2 separate regions of the Homo sapiens genome follow, and region 2 is linked to region 1. The links are contacts of gene promoters, found by promoter capture Hi-C in human tissues and cell types (Jung and others, 2019). All regions are on one chromosome and are shown on one strand. The core of a region is centred on a gene start or on the middle of the fragment in contact, and the rest is flanking DNA. Distances in the headings are between cores, read along the strand shown.

Region 1 (5,747 bases), core at 1,570-4,069:
TCAACCCGGGAGGTGGAGGTTGCAGTGAGCTGAGATGGAGCCACTGCACTCTAGCCTGGGCAACAGAGAGAGACCCTGTCTCAAAATAAAAAATAAAAAGATTTTTTATATATATATATATATATGTGAATACACCCACACAAACACAAATCTAATAGCCACAAAAACATTCTTAGCTATCTATTTCTCCTGATACCATGGAGCCTGTATAACATGGAAAGAATGAAACAAGTTATTCACTACTACCAGTCATAAATGTTTATCACCCATACACATACTAGTTGCTGAGAAATCAGACCATAAATTTAAAAAGCAATTAAAAAAAAAAATCTAGCAGGCCAGAGAGGTTCTTTCCTTTGAAAACCATTCTTCTGTGGAAATAGCTGACAAATTCACGCAATACATTTATAAACATTTTAGGAAAACCAACATCACAGATATTTTAACTAATCCTACTCTTTCTAATCCTAAAAATAAACTACATAAATGACATATATGTATAAATTTTGGTTCTGTGAACTTGGATTAGTCTTTAAGAAACAAAGAGCATAGGCACGGCATAGTGGCTCACGCCTGTAATCTCAGCACTTTGGGAAGCCAAGGCAGGCAGATCACTTGAGGTCAGGAGTTCGAGACCAGCCTGGCCAACATGGTGAAACCCTGTCTCTACTAAAAATACAAAAATTAGCCAGGCATGGTGGCGCGTGCCTGTAATCCCAGCAACTCGGGAGGCAGAGGCAGGAGAATCGTTTGAATCCGGGAGGCAGAGGCTGCAGTGGGCTGAGATCGCGCCACTGCACTCCAGCCTGGGCGACAGAGCAAGACTCGGTCTCGGGGGAAAAAAAAGAAAAGAAAGAAACAAAGAGCATCCACTTTCCACCTTTCACACACAACACAGCCAATTAAATCAAAAGATTCCACTATCATAGCATAATACCCCTTGAGTTTTCAGGCAGATAAGACACTCAGACACACCTTGCTTGTTATAGAACAGGCCCAAATGAGACACAATAAAACGATGATTCCATGTTAGGAATTCCCTACCAACCATATCCTCCTCTTTTTGGTGACTAGATTGTAAAATAAGTCAATTAAGAGTTCATAACGGAAGTGCTGAAGCAACCGCAAATCCAGACACAAAAATACAGTGGAACGTATTCGCATCTCAAGCACGTCCAAATGTCTCGGCCAATGTGATCCGATCACTGCCGTTTCCAGAAACACACAGTAATGGCTTTTAATTCATTTCTATAAATGTTCGTTGTGCGTAAAGCCAAACTGCACGCAAAACCGCAAAACACAAAAGATCCCTCGCATGCCGTTTATAGCCAGAAGATAGGCCATCCTCTCTGCGCCCTACCCCAGAAAGCTCTCCTTACGGCAGTAAAAATTTGATGACACCCCATGCTACCTACACATCAAAATGTCATCCCACAAAGTGGAAGGGGAGCAGTGTCAGCATCCGTTGGCCTCCATGAAACGACACTGCCAGTATTCCCACCTCTAGGCAAACACGAACCCAAGTGAAGTCGATGGAAAGTTCCCACCAACCAGGCATATTTGGTTCCCTTCTGCCCCCAAGGCCAAGCAGCTCAACTGATGAGATCTGCTGTTGCACCTGCCACGGCTCTGAACCCGGGATGCTTGGCGACCCCCGGGGCACACAAAAAGGCCCTGCGGCCTAACGCGCCAGTGACCCTTCCCCGAGAGTGCATGGAGGGCCGCTGGAGCATCCCTCTCGCTGTCCACAGCGCCCGCTTCCCTGACAAAGGCCCCGTGTCAATCCATCCGAGACACAACACAGAGAAGTTGCTGGATTGCCCATCGCGGACCCGCAGCTGCCACTACCCTCTCCCGGAAAAAAACCAAACCAAACCAAACAAAAAAAACAGAACTAGGGAAGAAAAGGATGGGAGGGTACACAGCGTGAAAATCAAAATGTTCCCAAAGCTAAGCAACCTGGGTGTGCCCTGGAAGTGGGTCCTGGGGGCCCGTGGGGGAGGGGAGGGAGGGCCCGGGTGGTGGCGGTGGCTCCTCTGGGGCATGAAGGCCGAGCCAGGCGCTAGCCTAATAAAATGCCGGGTGTCGGAACGCTCAAAAGAAAACCACAAATGAAATCCCCTGCGGGCGCCAGGCCCCGAGGAGGGAGGGAGGGAGAGCGGGGCGGGCGGTCCGCAGACCTGCGGCCGCGGCCCCACCTGCCCGCCCCGCGCCCACACACACCTGCCCCGGCAGCCGCCGGGAGGCGAGGCCGCGGCTGAGGCGAGGAGGGGGCCCGACCCGGGGGTGCCGGGCGAGTGGGTCAGTCCGATGGCGGGGGCCGGGGGCCGCCTCGCTCACCTCCAGGTCGGTGTCCGCGGCCTCTGGGGCCCCGAGGATCTCGCTGGGCAGCTCGGCCAGGTCGGTGACCCGGATCAGCCCGTCGTGCAGGAAGATGGTCTCTTCCTTCACCGAGAGCCACTGCGCCGAGTCAGCGGCCGCCGCCGCCGCCGCCGCCGCGGCCGCCGACGAGCCCATGGCCCCGGCTGAAGGCTTGGCGCTGAGGAGCAGACGCCCGGCCGGGGGAAACGGAGCAGGAGCCGCCGCGATCACCAGTCCATGGCAGCGGCCGCCGCGCCCGCCAGCGGCGCCCCACTTGCTGCCTCGCCCGTGCAACTCCGCCCTAGGCGGTCCGAGTCGCCATACCCCCGACCCCGGCCCGGGAGACCCCGGCCCTGCCGCCGCCGCCGCCGCCGCCGCCGCCGCCGCCCTCAGGAGCAGGATCCGCCTCTGCCGCTCGGCAACCAACTGTCAGTGAGACGCCATGTTGGGGGCGGGGCTCCCGGCATGCCTCGCGGAGCGGACAATACAGGCCCCGCCCGCCGCTCCGCCCACCGCTCCGCGGACGAGGCCACCCGGGTGGCCTGGACGTCCGCCTAGCCCTTCGCTGCCGCCTGCCCTCGGCCTGACCTCCGCCGGCCCCTTCTCCCCCTGGCCATTCAGGGTAGCCCTGGCTTTGCAGCGCGCCAGGGAAGAGGACGCCGCTTCCCCCGTCCTGTCCCTACTCAGGTGTGCACCCCTTGCTCGGGCCCGCGCCCCCACCCTGGGCAGAGCATAGAGATCACTCCTTGTTTTCACGTTTAAATGAGATGCAAGCAAAAGGCTGGCGCAGAATAGGCGCTGCACACTTGTTCATAAGCACTTGGTAGAATCACATAGTAGATGATTAATATTGACTGAAAAGTCTAGTACCCAGTAAGCACTCAAAACCTGGTGAAAATAAAGCGTCTGTCCACAATGCTTGGTGCTCAATGCCCGACACTTAATATGTGCTCCATGAGTGGCAATTCTAATTATTGCTATGTTCGTTCCATCAGTGTTCCACACTAATTGACATACACCTTAAAAATATGCTCACTAGGCCGGGTGCGGTGGCTCACACCTGTAATCCCAGCACGGAGGTCAAGGCAGAAGGACTGCTTGAGCCCAGAAGTTTGAGGCCAGCCTGGGCAACATAGGGAGACCCCATCTCTACAAAAAATAAAAATTAGCGGGGCAGGGTGGCAAGCGTCTGTAGTCCTGCTACTCGGGAGGCTGAGGCAAGAGGATCTCTTGAACTCAGGAGGTGGAGGCTGCAGTGAGCTATTATCTTGCCACTGCACTCCAGCCCGGGCGACAGAGGGAGACCCCATCCCTCCCTCCCCACCAAAAATATATATATGCCCACCAGTGCCATTTTATAAAAACAAGAAAGGAAAACTATATGTATAAAGAACAATGCATGAACAAATACACACCAGATGTTTAAGGTGAGTTGCCATGGGAGTGTGGGGCTGGTCTGGAACTACTGAGATGAGATTGTTCTCTATTACTTGTATATTTTTATCACTTAAAAAATAATAAAACAGGCCGGGCACAGTGGCTTACACCTGTAATCCCAGCACTTTGGGAGGCCAAGGTGGGCAGATCACCTGAGGTCAGGAGTTCGAGACCAGCCTGGTCAACATGATGAAACCCTGTCTCTGCTAAAAAAAATACACAAATTAGCCAGGAATGGTTGCACATGCCTGTAGTCCCAGATACTCAGGAGGCTGAGGCAGGAGAATAGCTGGAACCCAGGAGGCGGAGGTTGCAGTGAGCCGAGATCATGCCACTGCACTCCAGCCTGGGCAACAGAGCAAGACTCCATCTCAATAATAATAATAATAATAATAATAACAATAACAATAACAGGAGAACATTAAGGTGCATACCCTTTGATCCAGCAATTCAACTTTGAGGAAGTTGTCTGAAGGAAATAATCAGACTCGTAGTCAAGGATGGATATACAGGGTTGTGTAGCTCAATATTGTTTACAAAAGGAAAAACTTATCAATCTAGATGTCCAACAATATGGGGCTGGTTAACTAAAATATGATATATCCATAAGATGGAATATTATGGCCGGGCACAGTGGCTCACGTGGGTAATCCCAACACTTTGGGAGGCCAAGGCTGGCAGATCTCTTGAGCCCAGAAGCTCGAGACCCCCTTGGGCAACATGACAAAACCCCGTCACTACAAAAAATACAAAAATTAGCCAGGCGTGGTGGTGCACACCCATAGTCCCAGCTACTCAGGAGGCTGAAGCAGGAAGATCGTTTGAGCCCAGAAGGCAGAAGTTGCAGTGATTCAGCTAAGATTATGCCACTGCACTCCAGCCTGGGCAACAGAGTAAGACCCTGTCTCAAAAAAGAAGAAAAGAAGAGGAAGAGGAGGAAGAAGAGAACAATAAATCCAGCAGTTCAGAGTTGATCAGAACCATGGAAACAATAAAACAGGCAAGTGTAATGGAATGGCCATTTCATCAAATCCTCCCAAATGTCTGAGAGGGGGAGTATTATTATTCCTACTTTCAGCTGGGAAGTCAAGACTCAGTTAGATACTTTGCTCAATGTCACAAAGCCAGTAAACATCAAAGCTCAGATGTAAACCCAGGTCTGTCCGATTTTACAACTTCAGCTTCCTTATTTTGACTGTAAGAAAACTCCTTCATTCCTTTTTTTTTTTTTTTTGAGACGGAGTCTTGCTCTGTTGCCCAGGCTGGAGTGCAATGGCATGATCTCGGCTCACTGCAACCTCTTGACTCACTGCAACCTCTGCCTCCTGGTTTCAAGTGATTCTCCTGCCTCAGCCTCCCGAGTAGCTGGGATTACAGGCGTGCACCACCATGCCTGGCTAATTTTTGTATTTTTAGTAGAGACGGGGTTTTACCATGTCGGTCAGGCTGGTCTCGAACTCCTGACCTCGTGATCTACCCGCCTCGGCCTCCCAAAGTGCTGGGATTACAGGTGTGAGCCACCGCGCCCGGCCCTTCATTCCCTTTTCCAAACCTAATAACAACTATCTATCACAATTAAAAATATATATATAGGCTGGATGTGGTGGCTTGCACCTGTAATCCCAGCATTTTGGGAGGCTGAGGCAGGCAGATCACCTGCGGTCAGGAGTTCGAGAGCAGCGTGGCCAACATGGCAAAACCCTTTCTCTACTAAAAAATATATAAAAATTAGCCAGGTGTCGTGGCGTGCACCTGTAGTCCCAGCTACTCAGGAGGCTGAGGCAGGAGAATCACTTGAACCCAGGAGGCGGAGGTTGCGGTGAGCCGAGATAGCGCCATTGCACTCCAGCCTGGGCAACAAGAGTGCAACGCTGTCTCTAAATAAATAAATAAATAAATAAACAAGCAAAATTAGGTGAGCATCGTGATGTGCAGCTGTAGTCCTAGCT
Region 2 (5,747 bases), core at 1,412-3,911, 460 kb before region 1:
GAGGCTGAGGTGGGCAGACCATGAGGTCAGGAGATCGAGACCATCCTGGCTAACATGACGAAACCCCGTCTCTACTAAAAATACAAAAAATTAGCTGGGTGTGGTGGCAGGCGCCTGTAGTCCCAGCTACTCCTGAGGCTGAGGCAGGAGAATGGTGTGAACTCGGGAGGCGGGGCTTGCAGTGAGCTGAGATAGCGCCACTGCACTCCAGCCTGGGTGACAGAGCGAGACTCCGTCTCAAAAAAAAAAAAAAAGATTATGCTAAATTTAAAAAGTGCAAAAACTCTATTTAAGGGTTTCCTGTGTTCCATTGATCTATGTGTGTATCTCATCAGCAATACCGCATACTATTGAAACAGAAAAGAGTGATTTCTCCAAGTTATTATTTTCCAAAATTGTTTTAGCTAGTCTTGTTCCTTTGTCTTTTAGAAAATTTATATTGTAAAATATAAATTTTAAAATTTTCTTGTCTGTATCTACAAAGAATCTTGTTCGGATTGTGATATGAATTGGGTTAAGTCTATGTATCAGTTTGAGGAGAACTGGTATCTTTATTACGTTGTGTCTTCCAATTTGTAAACATAGCAAATCTCTATTTATTTACATCTTTGATTTCTTTCATCAGTGTCTTGTGGTTTTCATTTAATAGGTCCTGTACATATTTTGTTAAATTTACATCTAAATATTTCATTTTTTGAGTGATTTTAAATTGTATTTTTATTTTGATTAAATTGTTCATTGCTAGTATACAGAAATATAATTGATTTTTATATGTTGCTACTGTATCCTGCAAGGGGGAAGATTCAGTCTTTCACCATTAAGTAAAACATTAACTATAGGCTTTTTGTAGATGTTCTTATTACATTGAGGTAGTTTTCACTCTCTACCTAGTTTTCTGGGAGTTTTTATCATGAATGGATGTAAAGCTTAGCCAAATGCTTTTTTCTGCACCAATTGATATGATCATGGGATTTTTCTTATTTAGCCTGCTAACATGGTGAATTCAATGTTTGATTTTCAAACATAAACCAATCCTGCATCCCTGGAAAAAACAAAACTTGGTCATGGTGTATAATTCTTTTTTTCACATTGCTGAATTTTATTTGCTAATATTTGGTTAAATTTTTTTTGCATCTATATTCATGAAGGATATTGGTCTGTAGTTTTCTTTTTTTGTACTGTCTTTCTCTGGTTTTGGTATCAGGGTGATGCTGGCCTCATAAAATGAATCGGATAGGGTTCCCTTTCCTTCTCTTTTATTTTTCTAGAAGAGATTGTGTAGAATTAGTGTTAATTTATTTTTAAAGGTTTGTTATAATTCTCCAGTGAAACCATCTGGGCCTGATTATTTTTCTTGGGAGATGTGAAGTTATAAATTCAATTTTCTTTTTTCTTTCTTTTTTTTTTGAGATGGAGTTTTCCCAGGCTGGAGTGCAATGGCATGATGTCGGCTCACCGCAACCTCCACCTCCTGGGTTCAAGCGATTCTCCTGCCTCAGCCTCCCAAGTAGCTGGGATTACAGGCACGTGCCACCATGCCTGGCTAATTTTGTATTTTTAGTAGAGACAGGGTTTCTCCATGTTGGTCAGGCTGGTCTCAAACTCCCAACCTCAGGTGATCCGCCCGCCTCAGCCTCCCAAAGTGCTGGGATCACAGGCATGAGCTACCGTGCCTGGCGAAATTCAATTTTCTTAATAGCTATAAAGATATTCAACTTATCTAGTTCACATTGGGTGAGATGTAGTAGTTTGTGCTTTTTGAGAAATTGGTCCATTTATCTAAGGTATCAAATGTACGTCTGTAAAGCTGTTTGTAGTGGTTCCTCATTATTCTTTTGGCATCTGTTAGGTCTGTAGTGATATATTATTTCATTCTTGATTGCCATATTGTTTTAAAACAAGAATTTAGGCTGGGCCCAGTGGCTCACGCCTGTAATCCCAGCACTTTGGGAGGCTGAGGCGGGCGGATCATGAGATCAGGAGATTGAGAACATCCTGGCTAACACAGTGAAACCCCATCTCTACTAAAAATACAAAAAATTAGCTGGGCATGGTGGCACGTGCCTGTAGTCCCAGCTACTTGGGAGGCTGAAGGAGAATCACTTGAACCAGGGAGGCAGAGGTTGCAGTGAGCCAAGATCGGGAGGCTGAAGGAGAATCACTTGAACCAGGGAGGCAGAAGTTGCAGTGAGCCAAGATCGCACCACTGCACTCCAGCCTGGGCGACAGAGCAAGACTCCACTTCAAAAAAAAAAAAAAAAAAAAAAAAAAAAAAAAAGAAGAAGAAGAAAACAAGAATTTATGACTTAAATTTTCTTTTTTGGGTGTACCTCTTAATAACTACATATCCTCTTTTCCCCTTTAATGATTTTATTTTATTTCATTTCATTTTATTTTATTATTTTTTGAGATGGAGTCTCGCTCTGTCGCCCAGGCTGGAGTGCAATGGCGCGATCTCAGCTCGCTGCAACCTCTGTCTGCCTCCTGGGTTCATGCCATTCTCCTGCCTCAGCCTCCTGAGTAGCTGGGACTCCAGGTGCCTGCCACCACGCCCAGCTAATTTTTTGTATTTTTAGTAGAGGCGGGGTTTCACCATGTTAGCCAGGATGGTCTTGATCTCCTGAACTCGTGATCCGCCCACCTCAGCCTCCCAAAGTGCTGGGATTAGAGGTGTGAGCCACTGCCTGTAAAATTAATGATTTTAATCTTGAATTTTACTTTGTTTTGAACATTGCAATCCCTGCTTTCTTCTTATTTGTTTTTGCCTGGAATATTTGTGCTCAACCTTTTAATTATATTTTCATGGTAGAAAAAGGTAAGAGGAATGGCAAATAAATTTTTTTTTTTTTTGAGATGGAGTATTGCTCTGTCACCCAGGCTGGAGTACAGTGGTGTCATCTCAGCTCACTACAACCTCCACCTTCCAGGTTAAAGTGATTCTTGTTCCTCAGCCTCCCAAGTAGCTGGGACTACAGGCGCATGCCACCAGGCCCAGCTAATTTTTGTACTTTTAGTAGAGATGGGGTTTCACCATGTTGGCCAGGCTGGTCTCGAACTCCTGATCTCAAGTGATCTGCCTGCCTGGGCCTCCCAAAGTGCTGGAATTACAGGCATGAGCCACTGTGCCTGGCCACAAGTAAATTATTTTGATGGAGCACTTAACTGCTATAACTTACTATTTATATTGACATAATGATAGAGGTTTATTCATGATTATTAGCAACAGGAAAGTAACCACTAGAGTAACTGAGTATTGACAAGCAAAGTAAAACTTTACAAAGTAACATAGGAATAAGAAAAGGAATAAAGGAAATCTATCCAAGCCAGTGAAAGACAGGGAAAAAAAGGGAAGCAATAGAAAGTATAATAAATATTATATAATTTTCAGAATAGCATTCTGAATTGGATGACAATGTATTTTCTCCTCTTATTAATAATTTTCTTCTCAGTAATTTCTTCTTACTGAAAGCTCTTCTAACTAAATAGAGACAGTGAGGCTGAAGTTTATTGTCCCAGGAAGAAAGGAATCAAATAATAAGAATAAAGAGTCAAATTTTTGGTTTTGAGTTCCAAAATGGGCTCTCAAAATCTTTGGCAGGGCTGAACATGGTGGCTCACACCTGTAATCCCAGCACTTTGAGAGGCCAAGGCAGGAGGACTGCTGGAGCCCAGGAGTTCGAGACCAGCCTAGGCTAAATACTGAGGTCCTATCTCTACCAAAACAAACAAACAAACAAACAAACAAACAAAAAACTAGCCCAGCATGTGGCTACTTGGGAAGCTGAATCCTTGGCAGAAAAAAATAGCCTTAGGATCAAAGTATTTTTTATTTATTAAGAGTGGATGGCCGGGGATGGTGGCTCACACCTGTAATCCCAGAACTTTGGGAGGCTGAGGAGGGTGGATCATTTGAGATCAGGAGTTTGAGACCAGCCTGGCCAAATGGTGAAACCCTGTCTCTACTAAAAACAGAAAAATTAGCTGGGCGTGGTGATGCATGCCTATAATCCCAGCTACTTGGGAGGCTGAGGCAGGAGAATTGCTTGAACCTGGGAGGTGGAGGTTGCAGTAAGCCAAGATCACACCACTGCAATCCAGCTTGGGTGACAGAGCAAGATTCTGTTTCCAAAAACAAAACAAAACAAAACAAAACAAAACAGGAGTTGTGCTTTTGAGCCCGAGGTGTGCCTATCAAGTGAGCCCAGGAATTCAAGACCAGCCTAGCCAGCACGATGAAAACCTGTCTGTACTAAAAATACAAAAATTAGCTGGGGGTGGTGGTGTGCACCTGTAGTCCCAACTATTTGGGCAGCTGAGGCATGAGGATTGCTTGAACCTGGGAGGCGGACGTTGCAGTGGGCTGAGATTGCGCCACGGCACTCCAGCCTAGGCAAGAGTAAGACTCTGTCAAAAAAATAAAAAATAAAATAAATAAAAAAGTCTGGGTGCAGTGGCTCACGCCTATAATCCCAGCACTTTGGGAGGCTGAGATGGGCGGATCATGAGGTCAGGAGATCAAGACCATCTTGGCTAACACGGTGAAATCCCATCTCTACTGAAAATACAAAAAAATTGGCCGGGTATGGTGGTGGGCACCTGTAGTCCCAGCTACTTGGGAGGCTGAGGCAGGGCGAATGGCGTGAACCTGGGAGGCCGAGCTTGCAGTGAGCCGAGATTGTGCCACTGCACTCCAGCCTGGGCAACAGAACGAGACTCCATCTAAAAAAAAAAAAAAAAAAAAAAAAAAAAAAAAAAAAAAAGGTGAGGGTGGGGGTGCTTTTTTGAGAAGCTAGGAGAGTCATGTTCCTAGAAGTCAAGACCTGGATTCCTTAAGAGAATAGGGCTTATACTATAAGGCACAGAGGAAAAAAGACCAGTTTATTCATTATTTAAAAAAAAAAAAGAAATAAAAATCCTCTCTGGGTAAAGGAAGGAGGAAGAACCTTGGAGAATATTCAGATAGGACAGTGAGGTAATTTTGACATTGGTGTAAAGGCTTGCTCCCTTAGAGTTAAAACCCTGTTAGAAGAGCTATAAAAATTCCAAGATAGATTTGGGAATTGGATATAGAAGTGGTTTATGTTGAAAGCAGTGGATAATTTATTAAAAAGTTATACCCAGCCAGGAGTGGTGGCTCACTCCTGTAGTCCTAGCACTTTGGGAGGCTGAGGCAGGCGGATCTCTTGAGCCCAGGAGTTTAAGCCAGCCTGGGCAACTTGGTGAAACCTCATCACCACACACAAAAAAACAAAAAATGTTATATCTACTCCTACCTCCACTAAGAAGACATGGAAGGTAGCTGAGAATTGAAGATATTTATGGAACACTTCATTCACCAAAAGCAGAATACACATTCTTCTCAAGCTCATATGATACATTCCCTAAGACCACATTCTGGGCCATAAAACATAGTTTAGCAAAATTTTAAAAATAGAAATCAAACAAAGTATGCTCCTGGACCACAATGAAATTATTTTTGAAAAAATATATAGAGTATTTATTAACTGTACACTTAAAAATAGTAAAGATGGTAAATCAGATCTATATTTTTATTTCAATTTAAAAAATAAAAAATAGATTTCTTAAAAATGTAATTATACTAGAAGTCAGTAAGAGAGATAGCTGGAAAATCCTAAAATATCTAGAGATGAAACAACACACTTCTAAGTAACACATGGGTCAGCCGGGCATGGTGGCTCATGCCTGTAATCCCAGCACTTTGGGAGGCCAAAGGGATGGATTGCTTG

The links. The method cuts DNA at HindIII sites, captures the fragments that hold promoters and counts their contacts. A contact is called where the count stands out against the background at its distance.
Region 2: a contact is called between a fragment that was not itself captured here and the fragment with the promoter of HECTD4 in region 1, in 1 of the 25 tissues and cell types used here (spleen).

The regions. Positions count from the first base shown.
Region 1 is chr12:112,379,612-112,385,358 of GRCh38, forward strand. It overlaps HECTD4 (HECT domain E3 ubiquitin protein ligase 4), which reads right to left and starts at 2,820. Exons shown (of 76, transcript NM_001388303.1): 1 at 2,341-2,820. The coding sequence starts at 2,517. RefSeq lists enhancers at 778-1,278, 2,464-2,963 and silencers at 1,971-2,460, 2,471-2,740, 2,851-3,140. The HindIII fragment of the contact is 28,101 bases long and covers 1-5,747 here.
Region 2 is chr12:111,915,062-111,920,808 of GRCh38, forward strand. No RefSeq gene overlaps it. Among named protein-coding and RNA genes, the nearest start is that of MAPKAPK5-AS1, 75 kb to the left of the region's middle. The HindIII fragment of the contact is 8,585 bases long and covers 1-5,747 here.